2 separate regions of the Homo sapiens genome follow, and region 1 is linked to region 2. The links are contacts of gene promoters, found by promoter capture Hi-C in human tissues and cell types (Jung and others, 2019). All regions are on one chromosome and are shown on one strand. The core of a region is centred on a gene start or on the middle of the fragment in contact, and the rest is flanking DNA. Distances in the headings are between cores, read along the strand shown. Region 1 overlaps ZNF354A (zinc finger protein 354A). Region 2 holds the start of ZNF354C (zinc finger protein 354C).

Region 1 (3,696 bases), core at 931-3,430, 350 kb before region 2:
GATATGTGACACAGAAAAGTCGAACTTGATGCATGCCTGCAAGGGAGAACTGTGTTTGCAGTAACAGGATCCCTGAAGAAAGCCAGAGCTGATCTTATCCAAAATTTTAAGCAGCTCAGTGTCTGGGACTGGCGAATTTTCAGAGGCAGGGATGTTTATGGACTGTTAGATTTTCAAGCGTGTTAGTGTGGTCACTGGAATTAGACGGTTGTCGACTGGCTAACTTCCAGAAGCACGGTCACTGGAAGGAGGGACTTGCTGACCAACCGTGGTCTAGAAGCAGCACTCAAGTGGCATTCAGAAGCTGGAGGCTGTCAGGAAGTTGATTTCAGAAGCATGGCTGCTGGCAGCGAGGCCATCATTGATTTTTCAGACCACGTGTACTGATCCAAAGATCTAATTATTGGGGATTATTTTACAACTTAGGAATTTGGCCAAAAGAACAGTCTTTTCCTTTCTTTAATACGGAAAACAAGTACTTTTATTCTCACTTCCCCCTTTTGCCTTCCCTCAGTCAAACACATAGGATAAAACATAAGAGATGGTTCAGATCTTTATTTGTGGAGGTATGATTTCCAACTTGTATTGCCACTTAAGCGATTTAAGCGCCAATTACTGAAGCAGAACCGTAGCTCAAAGTGCTGATTTTTCATTAATGAGGGGAGAAACCCTGAATACATTTAAGGCATCCTAACAAAGTTAATACAGGATTCAGGACAAAATCATTAAATACAGGACGTTTGGCAACCCTACCTGTGAGTCAGCTTTCTCCTCACTTGCCACTCTCACCTATTTGCCTATGAAAACCATGCCTTATTTATTCTAATACATGATTATCTGTCTCCTGTTCTCCATCAATGCTGTCCCTGTTTGAGTTGGAACCCTCATTTACCTATTACTTGAATTTAAACAGCCCAGATTTCCTGGGTGGCATCAGTCATCAGCTTTCTTCAACCCCATACGCTTATCTTCTATGGAATTTCCCTTGCTTACCATCTTTGACTCCACCGATTTTACCATAAAATCCAAACTCCTTAGCTTGGCAAATAAGGCCTTTTGTGATTTGGCTTCTGCCTTCTACTCGAGCTTTAACATTTGTCATTTTCCTGCTCACTAGTTCTAAATTAAGTTTTCCAAATGTCCTATTATCCACCTGTGGTTTGGCGCATGCTGTTTCCTCTTAATCGGAATGCTTCTGTCTCCCTCGGAGTTCCTACTATTCTCCCCAAATATAGCCCAGGCATCATTGCCCCTGGAAAGCTTTGATGTCTCCAGGCTTTCTTCATGAGTCTCTTTCTTCATCCTGTGCAAATCTTTACAATATTTTCATAGTGGAACATATTGTCATAACTTATTTGCCTACTGAAACAACAAAAACTGCAATATAATCTGCTTGCTCATTTGCTAGCCCAACTCCATCCCCTTCCCAATTCATGGCTTCTTGAAGAAAAGCCTGTGTCTGTCTTAAAACTTGTACAGTTTTAAAACTTGTAAACTTGTATAGTACCTGCTCCAAAGTTAAAAAATATTTACTGTTGAGAAAAACTTAGGACTGTAATGTCCCCCCTCAAACTGGGAAGGAGCCGAGAGACCAAAGAATGACTCAGACAAGTCCAGCTTGATGAGCAGATGAGTTTATTATGACTTCCATACAGGGCTCTCCTGGACTGCAGCAGGACAGCTCTGGAGATCTGCACCACCTCGCACCTCTAAGCTGCTTTTAAGCCAGTTTTCTGGCTCTTTGCCTCGTGTGTGATTGGACTGTTTGCTTAGTGTGTTCCCAGATACTCTGGGATGTTTGGGTTCTCAGGGACACTTGCTCCTCAGCTGGGCACCATGGCCTCTGCTTACTGTCCAGACTTCAGGGCTCAAGTAGTGGATATAAACCCTTAGGTAACCTGGTAGGGGATCTGTCACACTACACTAAGTTTATGAAACAATTCACATGTCTTGTTTGGGCTGCTGTAACAAAATAACCTCATCATACTAGGTAACTAATAAAATATTTCTCACAGTTCTGGAGGCTGGGAAACCCATTTAAAGTGCTAGCAGGTTTGGTGTCTGGTTATGGCCATCTTGATTCAAAGAAGGTATCTTACCACTGTGCCTTCACATGGCTGAAGGGCAGAACAAGCTCCCTTGGGGCTCTCTGATAAGGGCACTGAGGGCTCCGCCCTTCTGATCTGATCACCTCTTCACACATCCCACTTCATGATACCATCACCTTGGAGGTTAGCATTTGAACACAGGGATTTGGGGGAGACATAAACATTGAGACCATAGCAATGTCCTTTTCAAGAGTTTGCCACAGGTGTTAGATTTGCGAAAGTTCTTCTGATGTGTTCGTTATAAATTTAAAAAATACATATTTAGGGTGGCCGGGCACGGTGGCTCACACCTGTAATCCCAGCACTTTGGGAGGCCGTGGCAGGCAGATCACCTGAGGTCAGGAGTTCAAGACCAGCCTGGCCAACATGGAGAAACCCTGTCTCTACTAAAAATACAAAATAGCCGGGTGTGGTGGCAGGTGCCTGTAATCCCAGCTACTCGAGAGGCTGAGGCAGGAGAATTGCTTGAACCTGGGAGGCGGAGGTTGCAGTGAGCCGAGATCGCACCATTGCACTCCAGCCTGGGTGACAGAGACTCCATCTCAAAATAAAAATAATAATAATAAATACATACATACATATTTAGTAGCTTTAAACCTGAAATTATTGCCTGTTTTTCTATCTAATACAGTTCAGGGCATATAACTGGTACACCTAATAAATGACTTCAGAGAAATAAAATCCAAAACCAAGTTAAGACAGTTGAGTAGAAAATTCACAACTACTAGAACAAAAGACCAGATTTTTCTTTTTCTTTTTTAATGAAATCCATGCATAAGTTTGACATCAGGGTAGGAAAAGGACAAACCCCAGAGACTGAGAGGTAGTTCATAATTCATTTTTCTTTTATTTTGGTCCTTTTCTCTAAAAAGGTACAATTTGATCAAGCTATTAAAATGCTATAAAAATATTACCAGTTTGGTGGTCTTCTAATGAGAAATCTAAAGCACACCTCCCCACCCACTCGGATATCTGTTTCTGATGATCACGTGACATCTAGCATATACGTCTGTAGGAAAAGGGAAAAAGCAAACCCATTTCACAAATGGCTAAAGTCAATGTCTTCAATTGTAAATTCTTCATCTCAGGTTATTTTTTTAAGTGTCTGACAGGCACAAACACTTTCCTCATATCTATTATATAGCTGAGGTTTATCCATGGAATTAAATACCTAATGAGGGCTAAATTATTACAGTTTTTTTCACATCCATTACATTTATTACATCTCTCTCAAGGATGTATTCTTCGATGAGCTTTGGTTTAAGGCTTTCACACATACAAATCTACTTTCTAGGGGTCCTCTTCGATATGAATTTTATAATGATTAGTAAGGGATGACCTATGGTTGAAAAGTTTCCCACATGTATTACATTCATAGGGTTTCTCTCCAGTATGAATTCTCTGATGTGCAATACGTGATGAGCTTTGTCTAAAAGTTTTTCCACATGTATTACATTTAAAGGGTTTTTCTCCTGTATGAATCCTTCGATGCTGAATAAGAGCTGAACTTTGGCCAAAAGATATCCCACATTCCTCACATCGATATGGTTTCTCTCCAGTATGAATTCTCTGGTGATTACTAAGTGAT
Region 2 (3,563 bases), core at 412-2,911:
TAATTTATAAATATTTTCTCTCAAGTTGTTGCTTCACTCTGTTGTTTCTTTTGCTGTGCAGACACTTTTTAGATTAATATAGTTGTTTATTTTTCTTTTTGTTGCCTGTGCTTTTGAGGTCTTAGCCACAGACCTCAAAAGCACAGGCAAGAAAAAGAAAAATCTTTGCCTAGATCAATGTCCTGAAGAGTTGTCCCGATGTTTCCTTCTATCAGTTTTATAGTTTGGAGTCTTTAAATCTTTAATCTATCTGGAGTTGACTTTTATATATGTTGAGAGAGAAGGGGTCCAAGTTCATTCTTCTGCATATTATTATCCAGTTTTCCCCAGAACCATTTATTAAAGACGTAGTCCTTTCCTCATTGTGTGTTCTTGGCACCTTTGTTGAAAATCAGTTGGCTGTAAATGGGTGCACTGATTTCTGGGTTCTCTTATTCTGTTCCATGGGGGGGTGTGTGTGTCTATTTTTATACAAATATCATGCTCTTTTGGTTACTAACACTTTCTAATTAGATATAAGCTCACTCCAGTTAGAATGATTATTATTATAAAGACAAAAAAATGACAGATGCCAGTGAGGATTTGGGGAAAAGGGAACTCTTATACACTATTGGTGGGAATGTAAATTAGTACAGCCACTATGGAAAACAGTGTGGAGGTTTCTCAAAAAACTAAAAATGGAACTACCATACAATCCAGCAACCCTACTACTGGTAAAGGGAGAGAAATCAGTATATGAAAAGGATACCTGCACTCACGTTTGTCACTGCACTATTTGCAGTAGCCAAGATATAGACTCAACCTACCAGCAATAGATGAATGGGTAAAGAAAATGTCATACATAGACACAATGGAATACTATTCTGCCATAAAAATGAATGAAATAATGTATTCACAGCAACATGGATGGAGCCGAAGGTCATTATGTTAAGTGAAATAAGCCAGGCACAGAAAGACAAGTACTGCATGTTCTCACTTATATTCGGGAGTTAAAACACTTGATCTCATGGACATAGACAACAGGAGGATAGATACCAAAGGCCAGGAAGGCCAGAAAGGAAGGGGAATGAAGAGAGGTTGGTTATGGGTACAAACATACAGTTAGATGGAAGAAATAATTTCTAATATTTAATAGCAGACTAGGGTGACTATACTTGGCAATAATATTGTGTATATTTCAAAGTAAATCGAAGAGAGGGCTTGAAATGATACCAACGCATAAAAATGATAAATGCTTAAGGTGATGGATACCCCAAATACTGTGACTTGATGATCATTACAGTCTATGCACGTAACAAGCACTCACATGGACCCTATACATTATGTAAATTATTTTGTATCAACAGAAAAGTAATCACAACCAGCGGTGGGAGCTACAGCACACTGATCCTCCTAAATGAATCTAATTTCCGGTTTTGTTTTTTCAAACTACTCCGCTTGCTTAACAAGTGCGCGGGCTGTAGGCAGCACGGCCAGCAGCTGGAGACCTCCTGCCTCGTGTGCGGCGTGCGTACTCCCTCGCACTGCAGCCCCTCCGCGCACTGTCGCCTTTGAGAGCTCTCGTTGGCGGAGGCGGTTCCTCTCCCGGAGTTCGCAGCGCGCACCGCGGCGTCCCCTGGGAAGTGTAGTCGGCGTGGGGCCGGAGGCATGCCGGGAGTGGTAGTTCTCCCGCGGTTGGCGGGGTTTCGGGGACAGCTCGCGGCCTTTCGGGGGTTCTCCTGGCTTGGGCCATCCAGGCTTGGCTAGGATTGCCGGCCTGGGGTTGAGGCGCTCGCAGTGGTCTCTTCCGGGCCGGGGTGGATCCGGGCCTCTCCAGCGAGTGGGCGGCGTGCAGCCTCGTCTGGGCTTCTGGGACCAGCCCTACGCGGCTCGGGCCCCTTGGCCACTGGGTCCCGGGGCGCCGTCCGCGAGCGGCCTGGACTGCCGGAGACCCGCGGGAGGGAGCGCCTCGCCAGGTGAGCTGGGTGCGCCGGGCCGCTGGGGTGGGGATGCCAGCCTTTTGTCGTTGTTCATTCTGCGATTTTCTTCTGTGCATTTTCTTCTGAGTAACGGAAATAATAAAAGCAATAGCTGATGCCCGCCGAGAGCGCTCGGGTGCCAGGCACCAGACTAGCGCATCGCCCGAACGAACTCCGCGCATCCCTGCTAACAGATAGGGTGGCGGTACGCTGTTCCCGCTCTGTCAGGAGGAGACCGAGGCAGAGTGGCGAGGTCATTGCCCCAGATGTAACTGGGGCCTGGGGCTAGGATCAGGATTGCCTTCCCGGCCCTTATGACTTTGGGCAGGTCACGACCTCCTGGTTTTCAGTCTCCGTAACATCTGTAAATGTGAAGATTGAAAATACTGCGTGGAAAACACTCACCGCTTCCTGGGAGGAGGTGCGCTTCGTCGCGTAACCGAGGCCTTGTGTGGCAGCTTCCCCTGGGCTGGTCGAGGCACCCGCTGGAACTGGCCTGGCAGAGCCCCAGGTTGGCTCCATGCTAGGGGGCACCCTGAGTCGCCGCTGCAGATCGCGGGCCTGGAGGCCCTCACACTTGCCCGGCTGCCCCAGGCAGCCTCTTCCCTTGCTTTCTGTGGGGCGGGCACGGTTTCCACCTCTCCCACCTGGGGTTGGTGTTTGGGCAGCGACGGCTGTTTCTGGTTGTGGGTGCCATTAGAGGCGGCACCTGTGGAGTATTAGGAGGGACAGCAAAGCTCTGGCTTTGGGTGGGGACAGTGCCTTAATCCTGTTACCTTGGGTAAAGTGTGGTAAGGCCCGACGAAGATCTAGTAAAGAGGCTGGGAAAGCTGAGTGGTTGGATTATGCTCACAGTTTCTTGGGGAGAACACAGCACTCCACGGAAGGACCACTCAGGGCGAGCAGTGGGGTCTGTCACCAGGGTAGGGATGCGGGGAAGCCTCTTTATCGTGGCTACCATAGGGAGGAAAGGGTGAGGCAGGGCAGGCAGGATGAGGATCAGCTAGCTAGGCTGGGAAGTGGCGCCCCAGGAGACTGGATATTCATTGCGACTTTTAGGTGTGCAGTTCAAAGCTAGCGAAGGACTCCAGACATCCATGGGGGAGTCACGGTTTGCCTAGAGGTAGCTGAGAGGCCCGAAGGTGGAAGTTAAAGAGTCCAAGTGCAGAAATAGAAGTAGGGTTGGCACATTGCCCTAGTAAACTAGTAAACACTCTTCTTGCTTTACATCATTACGGGGGGTGGCTTTTTTGAGACCTGATGGACATTATGGGCGGTTGTAACTTCCTCTCTCCAAGCCATCTCCTGACGCCAGGGTTCCTCTTGACACCTTTTTCCTCTGCAGACCCACCGTGTCCACACTCTGCTCTCCCTGGGCAGGAAGACTGAGGAGGAAGGGATGGCTGTGGATCTGCTGTCTGCTCAGGTGAGAGTGAGTGAAGGTTGTCTTTTTCATCAGTTGGCTTCTGGATTCAGAGATGGTAGACATGTTTCCAGACTTTGTCCAGGTACTTTTTGGTCCAACCAAAACGATGAAGAATCCGGAACCTCAAAAGTTTTTCCCAGTGTCTTGGGCTTAGCAAGGGGCTGCTGAGGAATGTGCCT

The links. The method cuts DNA at HindIII sites, captures the fragments that hold promoters and counts their contacts. A contact is called where the count stands out against the background at its distance.
Region 1: a contact is called between a fragment that was not itself captured here and the fragment with the promoter of ZNF354C in region 2, in 1 of the 25 tissues and cell types used here (dorsolateral prefrontal cortex).

Annotation. Positions count from the first base shown.
Region 1 is chr5:178,708,662-178,712,357 of GRCh38, forward strand. ZNF354A (zinc finger protein 354A) reads right to left here. Exons shown (of 5, transcript NM_005649.3): 5 at 2,851-3,696. The coding sequence ends at 3,399. Among named protein-coding and RNA genes, the nearest start is that of MSANTD5, 13 kb to the left of the region's middle. The HindIII fragment of the contact is 7,128 bases long and covers 1-3,696 here.
Region 2 is chr5:179,058,712-179,062,274 of GRCh38, forward strand. ZNF354C (zinc finger protein 354C) reads left to right here and starts at 1,662. Exons shown (of 5, transcript NM_014594.3): 1 at 1,662-1,955; 2 at 3,304-3,384. The coding sequence starts at 3,358. RefSeq lists an enhancer at 1,981-2,516. The HindIII fragment of the contact is 19,620 bases long and covers 1-3,563 here.